2 separate regions of the Homo sapiens genome follow, and region 1 is linked to region 2. The links are contacts of gene promoters, found by promoter capture Hi-C in blood cells and fetal thymus (Javierre and others, 2016). All regions are on one chromosome and are shown on one strand. The core of a region is centred on a gene start or on the middle of the fragment in contact, and the rest is flanking DNA. Distances in the headings are between cores, read along the strand shown.

Region 1 (6,332 bases), core at 1,983-4,482, 490 kb after region 2:
AATAAATAAATAAATAAATAAATAAAATATCATTCGCCACTAAAATGAACCAGGGCTCTTCGGAAAAATGGTTGAGTCCAGGCCTGGGGCAGGCAAAAGACAAGACAAGTCAGCCTGGAAGAGTTTGTTGAGCCAGTTAGTAAGGAAATGCCCCAAGATGGAATTAGAAAATCACCATTTGGGGCCGGGCGCGGCGGCTCACGCCTGTTATCCCAGCACTTTGGGAGGCCAAGGAGGGCGGATCACCAGGTCAGGAGATCGAGACCATCCTGGCTAACACGGTGAAATCCCATCTCTACTAAAAAAAAATACAAAAAATTAGCCGGGCGTGGTGGCGGGCGCCTGTAGTCCCAGCTACTCGGGGGGCTGAGGCAGGAGAATGGCGTGAACCCCGGAGGCGGAGCTTACAGTGAGCCGAGATCGCGCCACTGCCCTCCAGCCTGGGCGACAGAGCAACGCTCCATCTCAAAAAAGAAAATCACCATTTGGTTGCTATTATGGTAATAACTGACTCAGGCAAGGGTCATCAATTGATATTAAGCTCTTGGAAACGGCGTGTGTTGAGGAACAGGCTATTTAATTACTTTCGAAGTATCTCCCCAGAAAGCACTTATTAACAAAGTGTAAAGTCAGGTGCCGTGGCTCATGCCTGAGGTTAGGAATTTAAGACTAGCCTGGCCAACATGGCGAAACCCCATCTCTACTAAAAATACACAAATTAGCTGGACGTGGTGGTGCGGGCCTGTAATCACAACTACTCAGGAGGCTGAGGCAGGAAAATCACTTGAACCGGTGGCGGAGGTTGCAGTGAGCAGAGAGGGCGCCACTGCACTCCAGTCTGGGCCACAGAATGAGACTCCATCGCCAAAAAAGAAAAAAAAAATTGGTCGGGCGTGGTGGCTCCTGCCTGTAATCCCAGCACTTTGGGAGGCGGAAGTGGGCAGATCACTTGAAGTCAGGCGTTTAAGACCAGCCTGACCAACATAGTGAAACCTGCCTCTACTAAAAACACAAAAATTAGCTGGGCGTGGTGGTGCGGGCCTGTAATCCCAGCTACTCGGGAGGTGAGCCAGGAGAATCCCTTGAACCTGGGAGGCAGAGGTTGCAGTGAGCTGAGACCACACCATTGCACTCCAGCCTGGGTGACAGAGTGAGACTCTGTCTCAAAAAAAAAAAAAAAAAATTAAAATTAAATAAAATATTAAAAACAACAACAACAACAAAACACCACAGTGTAACATACTAACCTCACACTGGAGAAACTGGCAGACACCATTTGAACCAAGTTAGCACAATCGATAGTGGACAAAATCAGCATTGTATGCATCCTGAAAACACAACGTCACATCTGTTTCCTGCCACAAATGCAAAATCATGAGAAAGTATTAGACAAATAGCAATGGAAGGACTTCCTGCAAAATTACTAGCCTGGAATTTTTGAAAAATATTGATGTCATGGAGAGAAGGTAAGATTGATAAAATGTTCCAGAAAGAGAGACTAAATTAGAGTCGTTAACAACAAAATACAATGCTTGATCCTGGGATGGATTTGGGATTTTTTGTTTTTTGACACAGGATCTTGCTCTGTTGCCCAGGCTGGAATGCAGTGGTGAGGTAATGGCTCACTGCAGCCCAGAACTCCTGGGCTCAATTGATCCTCTCACTTCAGCCTCCCAAGTAGCTGGGACCACAGGAGGATGCCACCACAACTGGCTAATATTTTTATTTTATTTTGTAGAGATGGGGTCTCACTGTGCTGCCCAGACTGATCTCAGACTCCTAGACCCAAGAGACCTTCCTGCCTTGGGCTCCCAAAGAGCTGGGATTGCAGACATGACTCACTGTGCCTGGCCTGGACTTTGGATTTTTAAAGGACTTTATTGGAAACTTTTCTTTTCTTTTTTTTGAGACAGAGTCTGGCTGTGTTGCCCAGGTTAGAGTGCAGTGGCAAGATCTCCGCTCACTGCAACCTCCACCTTGCAGATTCAAGCAATTCTCCTGCCTCAGCCTCCTGAGTAGCTGGAATTACAGGTGCCCACAACAAAACCCAGCTAATTATTTGTATTTTTAGTACAGACAGGGTTTCACCATGTTGGCCGGGCTGGTCTCGAACTCCTGACCTCAAATGATCCAAGTGCTGGGATTACAGGCATGAGTCACTGCACCTGGCCTTTGAATGGGCTCTGGGAATTACATGATAATATTAGATGAACATTAATTTTCTGATTTTGAAGGTTATACTGTGATTATGTGCAAAAGTGTGCTTATACTAAGTGAACATATAGTGCAGTATTTTTTTAAAAATTGATCTGTCTTAGAGATGGGGGTGGGTGAGTTTACTATGTTGCCCAGACTGGCCTCGAACTCCTGGGCTCAAGTGATCCTCTTGCCTCAGCCTCCAGAGCAGCTGGGACTACAGGCCTGGGCCACCACACTTGGCTAACTTTTATTTTATTTTATTTTATTATTTATTTATTTATGTATTTATTTGAGACAGAGTCTCACTCTGTCACCCAGGCTGGAGTGCAGTGGCGCGATGTCGGCTCACTGCAAGCTCTGCCTCCCGGGTTCACGCCATTCCTCTGCCTCAGCCTCCCGAGTAGCTGGGACTACAGGCGCCCGCCACCACGCCCGGCTAATTTTTTTGTATTTTTAGTAGAGACGGGGTTTCACCGTGTTAGCCAGGATGGTCTCGATCTCCTGACCTCGTGATCCGCCCGCCTCGGCTTCCCAAAGTGCTAGGATTACAGGCGTGAGCCACCGCGCCCATCCTTTTAAATTTTTTGTAGAGACGGGAACTCACCATGTTGCCCAGGCTGGTCCCCAACATCTGGCCTCAAGCGATCCTTCCGTCTCGGCCTCCCAAAGTGCTCCGATTACAGGCATGAGCCACTGCACCCGGCCAGTCTCAAAAAAAAAAAAGTTAAATTCTGCAGAGGTTTTATTTATTAGAGGACGCTGGCCGTCTGCAGGTGGCGCAGCAGCACCCCCTCGTGCCTGGGGCGGGGCTGGGGCGGGGCCAGTGCTGGGGCGGAGCCGGAGCTGGGGGCGGAGCCAAGACGCGGCAGGGGCGGAGCCAGCAGCTGCGGCACAGCGGGGCCTGTGCGGCCCAAGTCGTCCCTGTGGCCTCCGGCCCCGCCTCTTAGGGCGGGACGTGCAAGGCGATTGGCGAATGCAGGCGAGAGGCGGTCGCTATTGGTCCGCGGCGCTGTCGGCTCGGCGGGCGGTGCCCGGACGCAGGTGCCGGCCGGAGCGGAGCTAGTGGCGCCGACGGGCCGGGCCGGGCCGGGACCGGGGCCGAGGCGAACCGAGGGGCCTGTGCGGCCGCCCGGCCCGGCCGCGGATCAGGTAGGCACGGGCCTGCAGGTAGGGCCGGAGGACGCCAGTCCGCGGGCCGGCCCCGGGTTCGAGGCCGGAGCTCGGCACCCGGGCGGGACGGCTGGGCTCGATCCCTTGGCCACAGCCTTCTCGGGGACGCGGGGACCTCAGTTCCCGTGTCAAGGCCGGTGGGAGGTCTCCGGGGTCCGGCACACATAGGCGCCTCTCCGAGCCTCGGTTTCCCCACCTGTGAAACTGGGTCATCCCATTGCCAACCTGATGGGGCTTCTGGGAGGATTCAGGAGGTGGCTGGTGCAGAAAACGCCTGACACACAGTAGGCAACTGCTAAGTGGCCAATGCCCTTCCCCAACCTCCTTCTCAGAGCGGCTCTGCCTGCAAAATAGTAAGTTATAATATAATGACCCAGCCACTTTGCACAAAGATGCTGAAACAGGATGCCCTGTGCTATGTGGGTGCTCAAAACGGGGTAGTCAAATGGGCATGTTGAGCTCATTCAGTTCTTTTGAAACCATACTGAGTAGGTGGAAGCAGTAGAAATGTCCCCTGTTATACAGTTGAGAGAGTCCAGGCTCAAAGAGGTTAAGTGTCTTGCCCAGGGCCACACAGCACATAAGGAGTAGAGCTGGGATTGGAACCTTGCTTCTCATGCAGGGAGGAATGAATGCAATAACAACCTCCACATTTACCCTAAAAAATATTAATAGAGCTTTTATTGAGCACTTACTGTGTGTGCCAGGGTTGACTGTGTGACCTCTCATCAACAACTCTGTAAGCTGATGATAGTAATTATAATAAGAGCTAATAGTTATTAACTTCTTAATTTTTTACTAATTTATGAACTACATATCATTATGACTCCCCGTCTTTTTTTTTTTTAGACAGAGTCTCTCTCTCTTGCCCAGGCTGGAATGCAGTGGCACGATCTGAGCTCATTGCAACCTCTGCCTCCCAGATTCAAGCGATTCCTACCTCACCCTGGTCAAGTAGTTGGGATTACAGGCCCCCGCCACCGTGCCTGGCCAATTTTTGTCTTTTTAGCAGAAACGGGGTTTCACCATGTTGACCAGGCTGGTCTCGAACTCCTGGCCTCAAGTGATCCACCTTCCTTGAACTCCCAAAGTGCACAAAGTGCTGGGATTACAGGCGTGAGCCACTGCGCCCGGCCTGTAACACTCATTTTAGAGATGATAATACTGAGGCTGAGAGAGTAAAACAGCTGCCTGAGACCACAATGTAGGGAGTTTTAGGGCCCTCTGATTCCTCTGCCCTCTGTTTCCTACCTTCAGGAAAAGGAGCCTGGGCAGGTATGGAAAAGACTGGGGGGCCTCAGTGCCACCCTAAACAAGCCTAGCTAAGGGTGAGCTTTACTGGATGAATTCAGCCTGGAGGCTCCTTCTCAGGAGACCCCTCCACGGACAGAGTCCACCAGCTCCATCATTAGAATGAGGCCCAGAGAAGCAAAGTGACTTGAACCAGGACACCCAGCATCGGTGGCATAGCCAGGAGGGCCAGGAGTTAAAGAACCCAGGTCTCTTGAGGTCCAGAACCACTCCCTGGACTGTTTTAAGTTCAAATTCTGACACCACCCCTTCCTAGCTATATGACCTTGGGAAAGTAGGTGCCTCTCTCCGAGCTTCAGCCTCTTTCCCCATCATAGGGTGTAATTATTGGTTTGTTGTGAAGACTCAATGAGATCTATCTCCAGGCCGGGCGTGGTGGCTCATGCCTGTAATCCCAACACTTTGAGAGGCCAAGGCGGGCAGATCACTAGGCCAGGAGTTCAGGACCAGCCTGGGCAACTTGGCAAAACACCATTTCTACAAAAAAATACAAAAATTAGCTGGATGTGGTGGTGTGCAGAGCTACTCAGGAGGCTGAGGTGGGAGGATCACCTGAACCTGGGGGCGGTGGAAGCTTCAGTGAGCTGTGATTACTACACTGCCCTCCAGCCTTTTGGGTGACAGATTGAGACCCTGCCTCAAAAGAAAAAAAAAAAAAAACAGACAAAAGAAAGAAAAGAAATAGGCCAGGCGCGGTGACTCATGCCTGTAATCCCAGCACTTTGGGAAGCCAAGGCGGGTGGATCACCTGAGATAAGGAGTTTGAGACCATCCTGGCCAACATGGTGAAACCCCGTCTCTACTAAAAATACAAATAATTAGCCAGCTGTGGGTGGAGGGCACCGGTAATCCCAGCTACTCTGGTGGTTGAGGCAGGAGAATCGCTTGAACCTGGGAGGCGGAGGTTGCAGAGAACCGAGGTGGTGCCATTGCTCTCCACCCTGGGCAACAAGAGTGAAACTCCATCTCAAAAAAAAAAAAACAAAAAAAACAAAAAAAAAAACCAGACAAAAGAAAGAAGAGAAATAAATCTCCTGGGCACTGGGCCAAGTTTGCTGGAGCCATCAGATCACTCTCCCATTTCAGCAGCCTCAGAGCTGAGTCCGACTTGCAGTCACCCTCTCTTTGTGTCCAGCCTCAAGTTTGGCCTCTTCCAGGCCTGGGCCTCTGTGGTTTGAGTGGACCTCTAGCCTCTAAATATCTCTGATGCCCACCACAGGGGCTGGCCGACCAGGATCGGAGGGTCAAGAGATGTGGCTCTCTCACGCTGTTCTTAAACGGAGTGAGGATTGAGAAATGACTACAACATGGCCAGGCACAGTGGCTCATGCCTGTAATCCCAGCACTTTAGGAGGCTGAGGTGGGCGGATCACGAGGTCAGGAGTTCGAGACTGGCCTGGCCAACATGGTGAAACCCTGTCTCTACTAAAAATACAAAAATTAGCCGGGTATGGTGGTGGGTGCCTGTAATCCCAGCTACTCGGGAGGCTGACGCAGGAGAATCCCTTGAACCCAGGAGGTGGAGGTTGCAGTGAGCTGAGATCGGCCACTGTACTCCAGCCTGGGCGACAGAGCGAGACTCTGTCTCAAAAAAAAAAAAAAAAAAAAAATGACTGCAGCAGCAACCAGAAATGCAGCAGCTCTGGGCTAGA
Region 2 (4,773 bases), core at 2,160-4,659:
CTGGAGCTTCTGGGTCGGGCAGCCACCCCTGCCAGGTGAGGGGCATGGCGGGCAGGAGGCCACACCAGGCCCCCCGCCCTGCCCCTCGGTTCTGCTCGGCTGGCCCTGGCTCTTTCTGAGGATCCCGTCATGGGGGAAGGTCCTTGAGATGATGCTCAGCTGTGGGGCGGGCCTCTAAGATGCCCCATACTTTGGGGGTCTCAGAAATGGAACCCCCGTTGTACAGGGGTTGGGTGGGGGTTGCAGGACTCCACTCACAAGCCTCCTGATGTCAAGGACAGGCGGACAGGGCTGGCCTCCCCCAGTCCCCAAGCCCCACTGTGCCTTGTTGTCTGCTGGGGGGCCATAGCTGGCACTGCCCACCGTAAAGGCCCTCGCACATTTTCCCCCTTCCTGTACACCTCGGGGCCAGCATCCTCACCTTCTTCAACTGACCAGTCGTGGTTACTCCCTGCTGCCAGGTCCTTCCCCTTCCCGGGGGTATTCTGTGACCATGAATAAAGTTATCATTCTCTTTCTCTTTCACCTGTGACTTAAAGATGGAAGTGGGGGCCCTGAAGTGTCAGAGCTTGGGGGTCACAGGGCTGGGGGTGTGTGCCAGGGAGGAGAGCTGCCACCTGACTGGTGTGATGAGGCCTGGGGTGAGGAGCCCCTTGGTGACTGTGAAGCTGACAAGTGTGGATGGGGAGAGCCGGCAGGGCACCTTGGGGACAGGCGTCAGGGATGGGTTTCAGAGTAGGGCAAAATCACATCGCACAGGTGGAGGGGAGAAGGCAGCAGAGAGTGGGGGTGACCCGGTGGAAGGAGTTGAGCCCCAGGCTGGGCGGTTAGAGGAAGATAGATAGGGGTGGGCTGCCCCGAGTGGCAGGAGGCTAGTGGGAGTGGAGTGTCCCCTGGGGTGGCTTTGGGACCTCAAGGATCCCTAGAAGGCGGGGAGGGAGGGGTACTGGAGTCAGGGCTGACCCCAAACCCCTGGGGGTGCTGGGACCCCGCTTGAGGCCCCCTCCATCAGCTTCACCTGCCCTGTGGGTGTGGACCGAGGGTCGGGTCCTAGAGAGGGAAGCAGATGTCCTCCCACGGCACCGCGTCCCACGCCCAGCTAGTAATCCAAGTCGGTAAATTCTCCGTTCTCGGAGCCTGTGCATTCACCCAGCCTGCCTTTTATAGAAACGCTCATTCCTCCCCCCACACACTGCACACGGCTCCCCTGGGGTGCACATCTCTTGGGAGGGCCTTGGAGCACAGCCAGCCCACTCCGTCCGTGGTCACCGCCCCACCGCACCAGACCCACAAACGCTGCCAATGGTGGTGGGCAGGGGGAGGAGGCTTAGGCTGCAGGTACGGTCGGTCGTCGGAGCCTCCCTCCAGGGCTGGCAGAGGGTGCGCCTCCCAGTTCCCCACAGGGCTGAGTCTCTCTCACCACCCCCGGCGCCTCCCCAGATCAACAGAATTGTGTGTGGAGGGGAGGCAGCTGGGGGTTACACATCAGCCCCCCCCCCCAAAGCCGGTGAAAGGTGCTTGTGATCTTGGTGTCTTTGCAGCCCTGGGAAGCTTTAAAAACATGCAAAAGCCAGACCTGGGTTCCACTTCCAGCCCTACCAGACTCTAGCCATGTGACTGTGGGCAAGTCAGTCACTGGAGCTGCCTGGCCCTCGGTCTCCTGGCCTGTAGAATAGGGATGCTAACAGGGCCTGGCTCATTCTCACGATCCCGAAGAGGAGACAGGCTATAAACAGGAGGTGCCAACTCAGCACGCTACTTGGCATGCAGTAAGCGCTCAATAATAGCTTTTATTATCATGTTCGGCTCAGAGGCAGGGAGGAGTGGAACGGCATGGGAGGGCTGCGGGAGGCACGGCAGGGGGGTCAGGGGCAAGTGGCAGGAGGGCGGATGGGGGGCAGCGGTGGGCACCGGGGCAGGGCGCGCTGACCTGTCCTGGGGCCCGGGTTGGGGGCAGAAATGAGCCTGCCCACGCTGTCCCGCCACGGCAGGCGCCACGCATCCTCGACACAGCCGCCATGGCAGGCCTTCGGGCTCCGTCTCCGGGACAGGCGGTGCAGGGCAAATTGGTATGCAGCGTCCGCCCCGTGGGCCCGGGAGAGCCTGCCCCGCAGGGACCAGAGCCCAAGGACGGGCTCAACACTCAGTCAAGGTGGGGTTGACGACGGCCAGACAACAGGGGAGGGAGGAGGGACAAGGGGGTCCCCACTTCCAGGGACGCACAATAGCAGAGCCACTTACACGCTGGGGAGGGGGCGGTGCGGGGGTCCTCCTCCCGCCCGGGATTCAGAGTCGGGGGTGGGGGCCAGCCGGGCGGGTGAGATGCGCAGAGAGGAAGGGACAGGGCGGATAAAGGCACGAGGTGGGGCTCCGGCCAGGCCAGGAAGGGACATGGGAGGGGTCTCGAGGGGGAGGGGCTGGGCTTCTCCCAACTCCCTCCCCCTCTCCCCCGGGCTGGGGGCTCCGGGGCGGGATCCTGAGCGCAGTCCTGGCCCCGCGGCGCCCCCCGCCGGGCCGGCCCTCTGAGACCCCGGCGCAGGGCCGGCTAGGGGGCGCCGCGCCCCTCACACCAACGCGTAGTCGAACTGCCCGCGCTCGAGCGCCTCCTTGTGGTCGGTCCAGGACGAGGCGGGCATGCGGCTGTAGGGGTCGAGCAGGATGCGCACGCAGCGCACCATCAACAGCACCAGCACCACGAGCAGGCAGAGCACGAAGGCGAACACCGTGCGCTGCTCCGCGTCCAGGCCCGCGCCCACCGGGGGCCCCGTCGACGGCGGCAGGGGCTCCGGCGACAGCGTCCACGTCGCGCTCATGGCTCACATCGCCGCGCGCCCTGCGGAGGAGGGGACCCGCCCCGGGCGCCGGGGATGAGGCTGCGCCCTCCCTCCCGCGCCTCCTCCGCTTCGCCCCCTCCTGCCGCCGCCGCCGCCGCCTCCCTTAACGTGCCCGACCCCATCCCCCGCCCGCGCCTCGGTCCCCGGGCTACGCCCATGCCCGGCCCGCCGGATCGCCGCCACCACCACGCGGGGACCCAACTCTGGCCGTGCGCGCAGGTGGGGGCGCTGAGAGCCGGGAAACGGAGCCGCGCCCGGCCTGGGCCGCACACAACAGGTGCGAAAGCGCGGCCGCGGCCCGGGCGCGCGGCGTGGGGACGGTCCCCGCGGCCCCTGCCCCCGCTCCCTTTGTTCTCGGCGGCCTGGGACCCCCTCCCCCACCGCCCCCGCCCCGGCGCGCCCCTCACCCTGGCTTCGACCCGGACGGGGACCGACCGCCCGGCGGCCGCGCTCTCTCAGGGACCCGCGCCGGCTGCGCGTTCGGCCTCTCCCCGGCGGCGGCGGCGGCGGCCCGGGCTCCGGCTCAGCCCACCCCACCCGCCCCTGGAGCGGCGGAGACCGAGGCAGGCAAGCAGCGCGCGAGCCGGGCCGCCGCGGCTGTTCCTATGGCGACGGGGGCGGGGCCGCCGCGGGGGGCGGGGCTGCAGGGGGCGGAGGCTGCGCAGGGAGCGGCGCGCGAGCCAGCGACCCCGCCCGGGCCTGCGGGAGGACGGAACCCCAGCCCCGAGGACCCGCGAGCACCCACGACCTCGCCGGGGAGTGGGCAGCTGCCACTCCCACCTCCCCTGGCACTTCGGGCCCCCCAGCCTGCCCTGTGCCTGCATTCTCCTCCGCGATAGACCCCACTCGAGACTCCCTGTTTGTGGGGGGACCTCAGTGGCCCTAAAACACTCATATGGGCACTCAAGCTCCCCCGGCCCTGGGGACCTCAATTCTCAGAGAGCTCAGGCAGGTCACTGGGATGAGTAAGTCCCCCTAGTTTTGTCTGTCACTGGCCTCGTCTTCCAACTCAGGGTCCAGCCCTGGGCAAGGCGTCCACCCACTGCGGCTGCAGTTCCTCACTCGACCTTGACCGCCTCCCACAGCAGCCGCCTGCTCCCACCCCCACCATCGCCTCGGCCACTCCCGCGCCAGAGAAGACACTTCAGACTCCGTAGCTGCTCTTCTGCAATTCGGTGTTTTATTCTTTCCAAATCTCAGGCTTATGCACAAGATGGAAGAGCACTGTTAAAATTAAAAAATGGACCTAAAGTGGCTTGGCTGACGTGGCTAGCGGGCCACTGAGCCGCGGGTCCCGGGTCCCACCCTGCTGTGGGGGGAGTCCCTGGGCCCTGGGGCCTCTTGGCACTGTGTGACCTGTGTGCACCCCAGGTGACCAGGCGCCGGGACCCCTGCAGGGCAGAGCAACAGGGCAGGGGTTGGCCCTGCGGGGGAGTGTCTCCAGCTGCCGCGCACCCGCAACAGCCCGTTGTCCCCTCCCGGGCCAGCTGGTCTTGCAGCCGTCCTGGCAGAGCTGGGGGCAGAGCCCGCAGTCTTGTTCCCAGAGGTCTGGAGTTGCCGCAGGTGGTGTTGCGGTGCCTCTGTGCCTGATGACCCAGGCCGGGGCTACCTGGCTCCGGCACCACACTCAGAGAATCTGCTCGGTGCTGGAGGCCGAGATGTCCAGGAGCCGCCAGGCCGCGTAGGGGTTGAGCTCGTCCTGGTCTCGGCAGAGCGCCCACACGTACAGCATCCGCAGCACCTTGTCCTGCAGGGTGGGGTGGGAAGGGCACTGTTGAGAGGGTTGAGGTGACCCAGGCAGCTCTGGGGGGGGGCCAGGCTCTGTGGGGCAGGAGCCACCGGCAACTTCCCCAGGGGCTGGGAGCAGAGGCCAGCACAATTGCCTAGACTCAGGAACCACTCAGCCTTGGTAAAAACAGACAGGTCTGCTGGTCTCCGA

What was found. The method cuts DNA at HindIII sites, captures the fragments that hold promoters and counts their contacts. A CHiCAGO score of 5 or more calls a contact.
Region 1: the fragment with the promoter of MARCHF2 here is called in contact with the fragment with the promoter of CTXN1 in region 2 in 1 of 17 cell types (neutrophils); the score reaches 6.2 in neutrophils.

What each region holds. Positions count from the first base shown.
Region 1 is chr19:8,410,073-8,416,404 of GRCh38, forward strand. It overlaps MARCHF2 (membrane associated ring-CH-type finger 2), which reads left to right and starts at 3,233. Exons shown (of 5, transcript NM_001005415.2): 1 at 3,233-3,348. RefSeq lists enhancers at 1,693-1,987, 2,858-3,358 and silencers at 2,850-3,209, 3,240-3,399, 5,553-5,847. The HindIII fragment of the contact is 7,216 bases long and covers 1-5,252 here.
Region 2 is chr19:7,922,726-7,927,498 of GRCh38, forward strand. CTXN1 (cortexin 1) reads right to left here and starts at 3,410. Exons shown (of 2, transcript NM_206833.4): 1 at 3,242-3,410; 2 at 1,766-2,833. The coding sequence starts at 2,813. The coding sequence ends at 2,565. It overlaps TIMM44 (translocase of inner mitochondrial membrane 44), which reads right to left. Exons shown (of 13, transcript NM_006351.4): 13 at 3,993-4,581. The coding sequence ends at 4,462. It overlaps LOC124904629 (a long non-coding RNA gene), which reads left to right and starts at 2,680. Exons shown (of 2, transcript XR_007067120.1): 1 at 2,680-3,111; 2 at 3,848-4,085. SNAPC2 (small nuclear RNA activating complex polypeptide 2) reads left to right here. Exons shown (of 5, transcript NM_003083.4): 5 at 1-525. The coding sequence ends at 39. RefSeq lists silencers at 2,705-2,794, 3,325-3,594 and an enhancer at 4,091-4,773. The HindIII fragment of the contact is 5,018 bases long and covers 1,550-4,773 here.